Regions from separate parts of the Homo sapiens genome. Here regions 1, 2 and 3 are each linked to region 4. The links are contacts of gene promoters, found by promoter capture Hi-C in blood cells and fetal thymus (Javierre and others, 2016). All regions are on one chromosome and are shown on one strand. Each heading gives the region's core, a stretch centred on a gene start or on the middle of the fragment in contact. The rest is flanking DNA. Distances are from core to core; before and after follow the strand shown. Region 1 has its middle 190 kb from the start of ARL6IP6. Region 2 has its middle 210 kb from the start of ARL6IP6. Region 3 has its middle 230 kb from the start of ARL6IP6. Region 4 holds the start of RPRM (reprimo, TP53 dependent G2 arrest mediator homolog).

Evidence for each region. Contacts are between HindIII fragments. The CHiCAGO score rates a contact against its expected background, and 5 or more counts as called.
Region 1: a fragment that was not itself captured here is called in contact with the fragment with the promoter of RPRM in region 4 in 3 of 17 cell types (M2 macrophages, endothelial precursors and M1 macrophages); the score reaches 6.6 in M2 macrophages.
Region 2: a fragment that was not itself captured here is called in contact with the fragment with the promoter of RPRM in region 4 in 1 of 17 cell types (M2 macrophages); the score reaches 5.6 in M2 macrophages.
Region 3: a contact is called between a fragment that was not itself captured here and the fragment with the promoter of RPRM in region 4, in 2 of 17 cell types (M2 macrophages and M1 macrophages). The highest score is 6.2, in M2 macrophages.

Annotation. Positions count from the first base shown.
Region 1 is chr2:152,910,593-152,913,495 of GRCh38, forward strand. No RefSeq gene overlaps it. Among named protein-coding and RNA genes, the nearest start is that of ARL6IP6, 190 kb to the left of the region's middle. The HindIII fragment of the contact is 3,456 bases long and covers 1-2,903 here.
Region 2 is chr2:152,928,584-152,931,600 of GRCh38, forward strand. No RefSeq gene overlaps it. Among named protein-coding and RNA genes, the nearest start is that of ARL6IP6, 210 kb to the left of the region's middle. The HindIII fragment of the contact is 4,907 bases long and covers 1-3,017 here.
Region 3 is chr2:152,945,361-152,948,060 of GRCh38, forward strand. No RefSeq gene overlaps it. Among named protein-coding and RNA genes, the nearest start is that of ARL6IP6, 230 kb to the left of the region's middle. The HindIII fragment of the contact is 715 bases long and covers 1,043-1,757 here.
Region 4 is chr2:153,477,448-153,480,542 of GRCh38, forward strand. RPRM (reprimo, TP53 dependent G2 arrest mediator homolog) reads right to left here and starts at 1,315. Exons shown (of 1, transcript NM_019845.3): 1 at 1-1,315. The coding sequence starts at 1,118. The coding sequence ends at 789. It also overlaps a transcript of GALNT13 not described here. RefSeq lists enhancers at 1-489, 490-993 and a silencer at 1,350-1,549. The HindIII fragment of the contact is 6,762 bases long and covers 1-3,095 here.

The DNA of each region.
Region 1 (2,903 bases), core at 186-2,685, 570 kb before region 4:
TTTGATTCAATTTGCTAATATTTTGTTGAATATTTTGTTTTTATATTTGCAGAATATATTGGTTTCTAGTTTTCTTGTATAATAGTTGTCTGGTTTTGGTATTGGGTTAATGCTAAACTTAGGAATTAGGGAGTATTCCCTCTATTTCTATCTTATGGAAGAGATTGTAGAAAATTGGTATAATTTCTTTTTTAAGTGTTTGGCAGAATTCATAAGTGAGCCCACCTGGGCCTAGTGCCTTCCATTTTAGTAGGTTATTAATTATTTATTTAATTTATTTAATAGGTATAAACCTATTCAGATTGTTTATTTCTCCTTATGTAAAGATTACATACAGATTGTGTTTTTCAAGGAATTAATCCATTTTATCTAGTTTATCAAATTTGTGAGCATAGAATTATTCCTAATATTCTTTTTTTGTTTTTTTTTTAATATCAATGGGATATGTAGTGGTGTTCCTTTTAATCATTTCTAATACTAGTCATTTGTGTCATCTCTTTCTCTCTTAAAGTAGCCTGGCTAGAGGCTTATCAATTTTCTTTCCTTTTTAAAAAATAAACCTTGAATTTGCTGACATACAGTCTTTTCAATTTTGTTGATCTTTTTCACAATAGCCACAAAAAGAATAAAATAGCTAGGAATACAGCTAACCAGGGAGGTGAAAAATCTTTACAACAAGAATTTCAAAACACTGCTCAATGAAATTAGAGATGATACAAACAAAGGAAAAAACATTCCATGTTCATGGATAGAAAGAATCAAAATTGTTAAAATGGACATACTGCCCAAAGAATTTTAAATATTCAGTGCTATTCCTATCAAACTACCAATGACATTCTTCACAGAATTAGAAAAAAAAAACTATTTTAAAATTCACATTAACAAAAAAAAAGAGTTCAAATAGCCAAAGCAATTCTAAGCAAAAAAAAAAAAAAATAAAATAAAATAAAGCCAGAGACATCACATTGCCTGACTTCAAAGTATACAAGGCTGCAGTAACCAAAACAGTACCATATGGTACTGCTCAAAAAACAGACATATAGACCAATGAAACAGAATAGAGAGCCCAGACATAAGGCCACACTCCTACAACCATCTAATCTTCAACAAAGTCAACAAAAACAAACAATGGGGAAAGGACTACCCATTCAATAAATGCTGCTGGGATAACTGGCTAGCCATATGCAAAAGTTTGAAATGGGACCCCTTCCTTACATCATATACAAAAATCAACTCAAGGTGGATTAAAGACCTAAATTTAAAACCTAAAACTATACAAACCCTGGAAGTTAACCTAGGAAATACCATTCTGGACATAGGATCTGGTGACGATTTCATGACAGAGATGCCAAAAGCAATTGCAACAATAGTTTTTTTTTTTTTTTTTTTGAGATGGAGTCTCAGACTGTCACCTGGGCTGAAGTGCAATGGCACGATCTTGGCTCACTGCAACCTCCACCTTCCAGGTTCACACAATTCTGCTGCCTCAGCCTCTGGAGTAGCTAGGATTACAGGCACATACCACCAAACCCGGCTAATTTTTTGTATTTTTAGTAGAGACTGGGTTTCACTGTGTTGGCCAGACTGGTCTTGAACTCCTGACCTTGTGACCCACCCACCTCAGCCTCCCAAAGTGCTGGGATTACAGGCATGAGCCACTGTGCCCATCTGCAACAACAGCAAATATTGACAAACGGGATCTAAGTAAACTAAAGAGCCTCTGCACAGCAAAAGAAACTATCAACAAAGTAAACAGACAACCTACAGAACGGGAGAAAATATTTGCATCCTATGCAGCTGACCAAGGTCTAATGTTTAGCATCTATAAGGAACTTAATAAGCAAAAAAAAGCAACCCCATTAAAAAGTGGGCAAAGGACATGAACAGACATTTTTCAAAAGACATACGTAGCCAATAAGTATGTAAAAAAATGCTCAACATCACTAATTATTAGAGAAATGCAAATTGAAACCACAATCACATACCATCTTATACCAGTCAGAATGGCTATCATAATAAAGTCAAAATATAGCAGATGCTTGTGAGGTTGCACAGAAAAGGGTATGCTTATACACTGCAGGTGGGAATGTAAATTAGTTCAGCCATTATGGAAAGCAGTTTGGTGATTTCACAAAGAACTCAAAGCAGAATTACCATTTGGCTCAGCAATCCCATTATTGGATTTATACCCAAAGGAAAATAAATTGTTCTACCATAAAGACACATGCATGCATATGTTCCTTACAGCACTATTCACAATAGCAAAGACGTGGAATCAACCTAAATGCCCATCAATGATAGACTGGATAAAGAAAATGTGGTACATATACACCATGGAATACTATGTAGCCATAAAAAAAAACAAGATCATGTCCTTTGCAGCAACATGTATGGAGCTATAGGCCATTATCCTAAGTGAACTAACTTAGGTATGGAAAACCAATACTGCATGTGGGAGGATGCAGTATTTTTTTCCTTTGTGTCCATATGTACTGAATGTTTAGCTTCCACTTTTGGGAGGTAAAGGAACAACATACACTGGGGCCTACTAGAGGGTGGAGGGAGGGAGGAAGCTGAAGATAAAAAAACTAACTATTGGGTACTGTGCTTATTACTTGGATGGTGAAATAATCTGTACACCAACCTCACACGACATATAATTTACCTATATAACAAACCTGCACATGTACCCCTGAGCCTAAAATAAAGGTTTTTTTTAAAAAAGAACCAGGTTTTGGTCTCAGTGTTTTTCTCTATTGATTTGTTTGCAGTTTTTTTTTTTTGCTCTAATTTTTGTTATTTCTTTTCTTCAGCTTACTTTGGATTTATTTTCTTTTCTTGCTTTTAGATTTCTAAAATAGGAGGTTAGATTATTGACCTTAGGTCTTTCTTCTTTTCAAATA
Region 2 (3,017 bases), core at 155-2,654, 550 kb before region 4:
CAAGGGACCCTTAAAGAGCCACTGAAATTGAAGGGGTCCAGTAAAAGATGATGAGGGCTCACATTAAGATGGAGCAGTGAGGACAGCTCAGAGATAGTCTTGTGCGTTGGTAGAGAGAAGGGAGTCAAGGATGACTCTCAGGCTCTTGACTTGGATAAGGAAACAATAGTGACAAAGAGTCAATTACTGAGATAGGGAATATACAGCAAAATAGACTATGGGGTAGAAAGAAGTTAATGAGCAGTTTGCAATGTGTTGAGTTTGAGATACCTAAGTCCATCTAGATATATGTGTTCATGAGACAACTGGTTATGTTATCTGATACATTTATATATTATACATAATATATATATGATGTATGATATATATAATTATACATGATATATTATGTATAATATATATTATAGATTACATATAAATTATATATATAATATATAATTATATAATATATAATATTATATAATATATTATATATATTATACAATTATATAATATATATAATATACAATTATATAATATATAATATACAATTATATAATATATAATACAATATAATATATATTTAATATATTATATAATACATATTTAATATATTATATATTATATGTTATATACTAAATATATAATATGTATTTAATATATACTATTATATATGTAATATATTATATAATTTATGTAACATATTATATATTATATATGCAATATATTACATGTTACATATATATTACATATAATATATGTAATATATAATATACACTATATTATTATAGTATATAATATACTATATTATGTAATTATATAATATAGTATATTATACACTATATTATATTATCATATAATTATATATTATATACTATATTACATATATATTATGTAATATAATATGCAATATGTTACATATATAATATATATGTATTATATAGTATATATACTATAGTATATATAAAATATATGCTATAATATATATTTTATATATTATATAATACATATAATGTATCATATATTATATATAATATATTTTATAATATATTACATATGTATCACACATATATCACATACATGTAATATATTACACATTACATATCACATACATGTAACATATTACATATCACACACTACATATATGTAACATATTACATATCGCATATCACACATATGTAACATATTACATATCACATATTACATATATGTAATATATCACATATCACATATTACATATATGTGACATATCACACATCACATATATGCAGCATATCACATGCATGCAACATATCACATATACGTAACATGTCACACATATATATGCAACATGTAACATATATGTTGCATGTCATATATTACCTATATGCAACACACCGCATATTGAATATATGTAACATCACATATTACATATATGTAATATATTACTACATTTATGTAGCATCACATAGTACATATATGTAACATATTACATATATGTAATATGTTACATATTACATATTACATGATATATATAGAACTTTAATGACTTTTGAAGAAGAAGTGATTGATAAGAGCATGTAAAATGAGAAGGCCAGGAGTCCAAGGAGGAAACATTGGGGAGAACCAAGATTTAAGAATGAATTACTGAGCAGTGGTTCAATAACTAATTCTTTAACTGGATTCAGCCTAAAGTTTATCTTGTCATCTGAATTCTTTCCTTGATGTATTATATATACAATTAAATGCTAGAAATTATATATATATAATATATAAATGAATGCTAGATATATAAATGAATGCTAGATATATAATATATATAAACAAATGCTAGAAATATATATGTAATTTCTAGCATTTATAATTGACTTTTTAACATACCAACCTGTTTTGTTTCAAATGTACCTATATTTGTTCCATAATCCCCTGTTTTGATAAATAAGAAATTTTCCTTCTTTTATCAGCTTGAGGATATTAAAGTGCTTATTTTAAAAACCTTTTACATTTCTTTATCGTTTGCATCTCCTTAGAAATCAGCTCTTCTTATTGTTGAGTTTCATTTAATGGATTAGCTGTCTTTGTAAGACTTTAAATTTTGACTTGTAAGCTCATCTTAAGTAAGAGATTTTCGTCTCTCTCCTGATGTAATCCTTAGTGATTTGGCAGTTGCTTTGCTTTGGATTCTGAGAGTTCCCAGTTCAGAATGATGTCTTATATTGGCTTGGGGATATTGCATATCCAATGTTGGAAGCCTTTGTTCTTTCTTGTTATCCAAGCCCAACAGCCTTTTATTTTAGCCTCTGTTCACAGAGAGAGATAGGTTTGTTCCAGCTCATATTTTTCAAAATTGAACCTGAATGTAGGCTCCTATGTACATGGGGTGCTTTTGTCCTTACTCTCTTGCAGCAGCTGACTTTCCAGTGACCAACACTTGTTTTTTGTCTTGGAGCATAGGATGCTTAGAGCTACAACCTACTTTTTATTATTATGTATTTTTTTTAAATTTTATTATTATTATATTTTAAGTTTTAGGGTACATGTGCAGAACGTGCAGGTTTGTAACATATGTACACATGTGCCATGTTGGTGTGCCATATCTGAACCACAAAGATGTTTGTACATTTTTTATTACAGCTGTGTCTTATAAAGACATTTAAAAAATTTAAGCTATTATTGTAAAGTGTTCAGAGTGAAGAAGAGATGGGGATTTCCAAGTGAATCCACTCTATTTACTTGATTGTTTTTCTTTTTTCCTTTTGTTTTTCAGGATAGGATGGGAGATATGAGCATAATCATAGGCACACAGATACTGCGGCCAATGAAAGGTGAGTGTGTAAGAGTATAGACACATTTGTCTCCACGATGTGAAGATAAGGTCATGTTGTAAGAGAAAAGAATATAAACTCTTTGTGCATGTACTTATTCTCTAACCAGTTTTCTAAAAAACTGCTTGATGAATATGGTCTTGGTAAGAAGGGCCATTTTGAGGCCAGGTGTGGTCGCTCAAACCTGTAATCCCAGCACTTTGGGAGGCCGAGGAGGGTGGATCACAAGGTCAG
Region 3 (2,700 bases), core at 150-2,649, 530 kb before region 4:
ATCTCTGCTAAAAATATAATAGCCGGGTGTGGTGGTGCGTGCCTATAACCACAGCTACTCAGGAGGCTGAGGCACGAGAATCACTTGAACCCAGGAAGCAGAGGTTGCAGTGAGCCAAGATCATGCCACTGCATTCCATCCTGGGTGACAAAGTGAGACTCTGTCTCCAAAAAAAAAAAAAAAGATGAAGAAAAAAAGTTTTTATAAGAACCAAGTGCTGATGTGATTGGAGGGGAGAAGAAAGACAAATGGCCAGATTGTGATCAGGAAGGAGAGAATGCTAAGGTAAGGATCTCAGATATATTACCTTCAAGTCAAAAATATTTTTTGAAACTTAGTGGTGTATTATGTGATGGTCATTTTGCCAGATGCAGTGGGCAGTACAAAAATGAGTAAGATACAGCTTCTGCTCTCATGGAACTTACAGTCTTGTGGGCCTTTATAGGCTTCATGATGGGCTTTATGATGAGGATGTTCAGAGGTGTTTGTGGCTGGTTTGTGAAGGAGGCCATCAAAGCCTAGAGGAAATACATATTGTGAGGTCCATAAACCAGATGGGCATTAACATAAATGCTAAAGGCTGAAGAAAGGCAGGGAATGGGAACTAAAGAGAAATGGAAATGCCATACAGCACCAAAATGTAGAAGACAGTTATGACTTGCTTCTTTCTTTTTTCTTTCTTTAGGATTATTTAGTAGGGGACAGGAAGTGGGGAACCACATGGGAACCCACAGCAGATGACAGAAAATTTTTAGAGAAATAAGATTTACTTTTGATATATTTTAGATATTTGTTCCCTGCAAATCTTGTGTTGAAATGTGATCCCAATTTTGGAGGTGGGGCCTGGTGGGAGGTATTTGGGTCATGGTGGAGGATCCTTTATGAATGGCTTGGTGCCCTCCTTGGATTAATGAGTGAGTTATTGCTTTATTAATTCAGGTGAGAGCTGGTTGTTTAAAAAAGCCTGTTACACCTTCCCTTCCTCACTCCCTCTCTTGCCATGTGATGGCCTGCTCCCCCTTCGCCTTCTGCTATGATTGGAAGCTTCCTGAGGCCCTCCCAGAAGCAGATGCCAGTGGTACACTCCTTGTACAGCCTGCAGAGCCCAAGTATACCTCTTTTCCTTGTAAATTACCTAACCACAGATATTGCTTTATAGCAACCCAAAATAGATTCAGACAAAATTTATGAGGAGAGGTGGGTCTGGCTAATTATTATATAATTACATTGTTACTCAAGATATTAAAGGCCACATAAATTGCCTGAAAATGTGAACTCACACTTGAAAATTTGAGGCTTTCTTTTAGAGGGAACACGTACATATCAAAAAATTGTTAGCAGCTGCCCAATATCTTCTGACCATTTTTCAGTATCTCATGCCAAGCCTAAGCATAAAATGTCTGGAGAATAATGCAGTATTAAATGATTATTTGGTATATGGATCAACTCTAGGAAAAAATATAATTTTAGAGAGGTTAGATGATAATATTAAAGATAAATCAGTAAAATCAAGACCAAAAGCCTGACCTTGGACTGAATTTGGGGGTAAAGTTGTAAAATTCAAGATTTCTTGTTGTGCTTAATCCTCTTAAGCCAAACGATTACACTTTGTAACCAGAATCATCAGTAATTTATCCACAGTATCCTCGTGGCTCTAATTTATGCTGCAGACCTCATCTGCACTGCTTGGTTTGGTTTTAACAAAATGCCTTTTTTTCCAATGTACATAGTTAGATTTTATATGATTATTATAGGGAAGCTTGTTAGCAGCAAGGGAGTGCAGAGATGAAAGCATGTGTTCTCAGATGGGCTGTCTTTCTGAATGCTGTTTGCTGGAAGGTAGCAGTTACCGAAGGAAACAATGGCTGCTGCTAAAGAGTCTGAAGGGGTCTGAGGGCTTTTCAGAGCACACGCTGATGGGCATGGAGTGAATAGTTGTCGGTGGGTTTAATCCTAATTTGTCACCAACTCAGAGCCTGGATAGCTCACAATAGGAGATGACAGGTGTGTTAAAGCATGAGGCAAGTGTGTAACTTGGCTTTGTACAGAGGCCACAAAATGCTGGTTAACTTGGATATTGCTATGCCCTTCCTTTTACCTGAACACCTGCTTTCCTTCACAAGGTAACCAACCTCATGGGGTTTCAGTCCTCGGTGAAATTTTTTTAAGGGGCATATTTACATCATTCCTTTGTACTTAACTTGGGTCATGTGTGGTGGCATCTGTTGGATGCATTTGTGATGGGGCCAAGTAGGAGACAGTATACCCACAGTTTTCTCATTTAATTATAAGGGAAAAAGCAGATTATCCTTGTATCACGTTTTGGTATCAGGGCATTTCTAGCATCCAGCACTGCATGTGATGCAGTTAGGCTCATATGGATACGTGGCAGGAGGAAGATGCCCAAGGCAGATGGAAATTGAAAACAATATTACAGGCAGAGCCAAGCCAGTGGCACATCATTTTTGGAAACACTGAAATATTAAACAGAGATTTCGCTTGGGCAGCAGGTTGGCTGTGCATGGTCTTTTCTGATGGTTTATGTAGCAATTAAAAAAAGAAGAAAAAGTAGAAAACATACTGAGTAAGTGACATAAATAAAGGATAAGAATTAGCTAAGAAAGGAGGTGACATTACATGTATTTGCTTACTTGTCCAAGGGTGTTTGGAAGCACATCTTGGCTTTAATTGGGATACCAA
Region 4 (3,095 bases), core at 65-2,564:
ACGAGCTACGAGTTCTATTCTGGGTCTTTGTCCCAGGGCCAGCAGGAACGCTAGACGCCTCCCAAAAGACCCAGTGGGAAATGCACTAAAAGAAACAACTCACCCCGTTCAAATTCGCAGGCTCCCCCTCCCCCCACCCCTTCTCCCACAATGACAAAACTGTAACTCCTCAGGCAGGCAAACAGGCCACTGGGGCAGAAAAAGACTTATCAAACATTTGTATTCAAGCAAACAAACACAAAACCTCTTAAAACGGCACGTTACAATCAAAGGTATTTATCGCCCCTCCCCTCCAGGGCAGGGGGGGAGCAGGAGAAGAGTGGGAGCGCACCCGGACACGGATTTGTGAGACCCCATGAGTCTGCTGCGTGGCTTTTAACAGGTCACTCTTCCGGTCACAAGGCGATCAGTGCCGCTGGGTCTCTCCCCTGCCCGCCCTCTCCACCTGCCCCCAGAGCTTGGCCCACCTGCGGGTGGAGAAGGGCCTTCGCACCGTCGGTCTCCCCGCATTCCAAGTAAGTAGCAGCTTCCAAAGTTCTGCGCCCTAATCGCCCTCTTCTTGCCACTTTCTGCTGAGTTCAGAGTCTGGGCGCTCTCCTCCGACTGCCAGGCATGAGGACTTTCAGAGGGCGAGGGAGAAACCGGTCGCTTCTTTCCGAAAGGCCGAAGTCGAGAGAAATAATTGACTCCGACAGGTTTGCTTCGCCCAGTCTCTGATAGTGAGGGGCACAGCCGGGCTAGCAAAGTGGGCAGGCGTGGGAGCGGTTGCCGCGGGGGCAGAGGGCGGGTCAGTAGGGCCCCACGACCACCGCCTCCACCTCCTTAGACGGCCTCCGGTCCTTCACGAGGAAGTTGATCATGCCCTCGGACTTGATGAGCAGATTGCAGCCGAGGAAGAAGATGCCGAAGACCACGGTGAGTGAGAGCACGCACATGACCGCGATCTGCACCACGCGCATTATGTACAGGCTACGCTCGTCCGGGCCTCCCTCCGCGAAGCCGTCGTCGGTCACCACGGACGCCTGGGTGCAGCAGCGCACGGCTCGCTCCAGCGCCTCGCTGCTGTTGGCCAGGAACAGGCCCGCCACGTCCGTCTGGTTGCCTAGGGCCGGATTCATCGCAGGAACGGGCGGGCGCCGCGAGCGGCGCGGGTCCGAGGGGTGGGAAGGCGGCGGCGCTGGAGGAACAGGTGCCGGGCTGAGCGCTCACTCGCAGACTAGCGCGTGCGAGGGCTCCTCGCTCTGCTTTCGAAAGTCCCTGGGCCGTGGGAGTTTCCCAGGAGCCTCTCCGACGCGCGCAGCAGCTAGGCTCTTCTAAAGCCGTCCGCTCCAGCCCTGGTGGTGCTCGTTCCCGGCGCTCGCTCGAGGGGGGGCTGTTGGAACTTGGCGGGGCTGGACCAGCCCGGCCGTGGGAGGTGCGGGCCGCGGCGGCTGCAGCGGCGGGGTGGCTGCGCTGAGCAAACAGCGGCCCCTTCCGGCCGCACCGCCGCGCTGCGCGCTGCTCTTGGGAGGTGGAGGAAGCAAAGGGGCGAACCTGGTCTTGCTTTTTATTGCTTGCTTCTTTTGCAAACTCCAAAGGCCAGGCAGAGGTCACTGTACTCTTCTAGCTTGATGGATGATTAAAGAGTTTGTCGGGGGAGGGTGCGGTCAGCTGAAAGTTTCAGAGGAACTGGGACACACGAGCTCTGCGTGTCCTTTGCCTGCTGCCCCCCTGACCTCTGGGCGAATGGAAAGTGGCGATGAATCGCAGGTGCCAGATGGTGCCGGCTGAGGCCACCCGCCCACTGCCTGTGCTTGACTCCGACTCGCCTGCGTTGGATTTCTAGTGGAGTGGAGGTGATCTGAGAATGTTTCTTACAAAGCAATGAATTTGGAAAGACAGAAAGGCATGGAAGAAGGAAGGAAGAAAGGAAGGAAGGAAAGAAAAAAGGAAGGGAGGGAGAAAGAAGAGCTCTACACCCAGCTTCCTTTACAAAAGCGATTGGGAGACAGAGCAAGGCAGGTTTTACCGTGAGGTTTGAGGCCAAGGAAAGAGGGTTAGAGGAAGGAGGAGTTCTTCTGTGGCCCTTGGGTGGAGGTAGTTGCCGGGAGCAGGGTCACCTCTCTGGTAAAGGAGGTGAACAGAGTGACCACTTGCTTGTAATTTTAATTGCAGATAAGTTTTTGGATGTGCTTCCAGCATTTTGTCCGTTGGCAGTAAATCAGTTGTTGAAGGGAATTGCTCATCAACATCCATCACCTAGAACGCTGGCCAAATACTGGGAGCCCTCCCCATTTTCCATAAGCTGATGTATTTCACCCTTAGTCATTTAAACTAAACACAGATGTTTTTATAGGCCTGATTGACGCTTCAGCCATTGTGATTTTGCTCTAGGTTCCAACGAAATTCTATAAACCTGTCAGATTAAGTTTCTTAACTCTGAAAGAATATTGCATGTTCCCGCTCCCCCTTTTCTGTTTTCTTTCCCCTCCCTCCTTTTCCCCATTACTCCCTGCCTTCCTCCCTCTTTCTTTCAGCTGTAACAGCTGGAAACCAGTAACTTGAGCTTCCAATAGAATACATTTACTTTCTATTAAATGTTCTCACCACAAAGAACTGATAAAAATTTGAGATAATGGGTACGCTAATTACTCTGATTTGATCATTCCACATGTATATGTGTATCAAAATATCACTTTGTACCTCATAAATATGTACAGTTGTCAATTAAAAATAAAATAAAACTGAAAAATAGTAGCTGTCTTGCCATTTTCAACTCTACTCTTAATTTCATTCTGTTTGCTTGGTAAATCCTCTTATTTCTGTTTCTTAAAACATCATTTATTCCATCTTCAGAGTGTTCCTTAAATGTTTTTGCACTGCTTCATGACTATCATAAAATAGAATGAAATGCCTTCTGGTTGAGTTTTCAATTTTTTGATATTTATGGTATATCAGCTGCAATAAGTTTGATTTTTTAAAATAGCTATTATTATTTTGAGGGGGATGTTTAACAGCTGAAAATTCAGGCTTGGGCTTCTACCACAATTCACTGGCTTATTGTTCTAGTTTCCCATAATTTAATTAGAATTGAAAAATACCTCACTCTCGGCAAT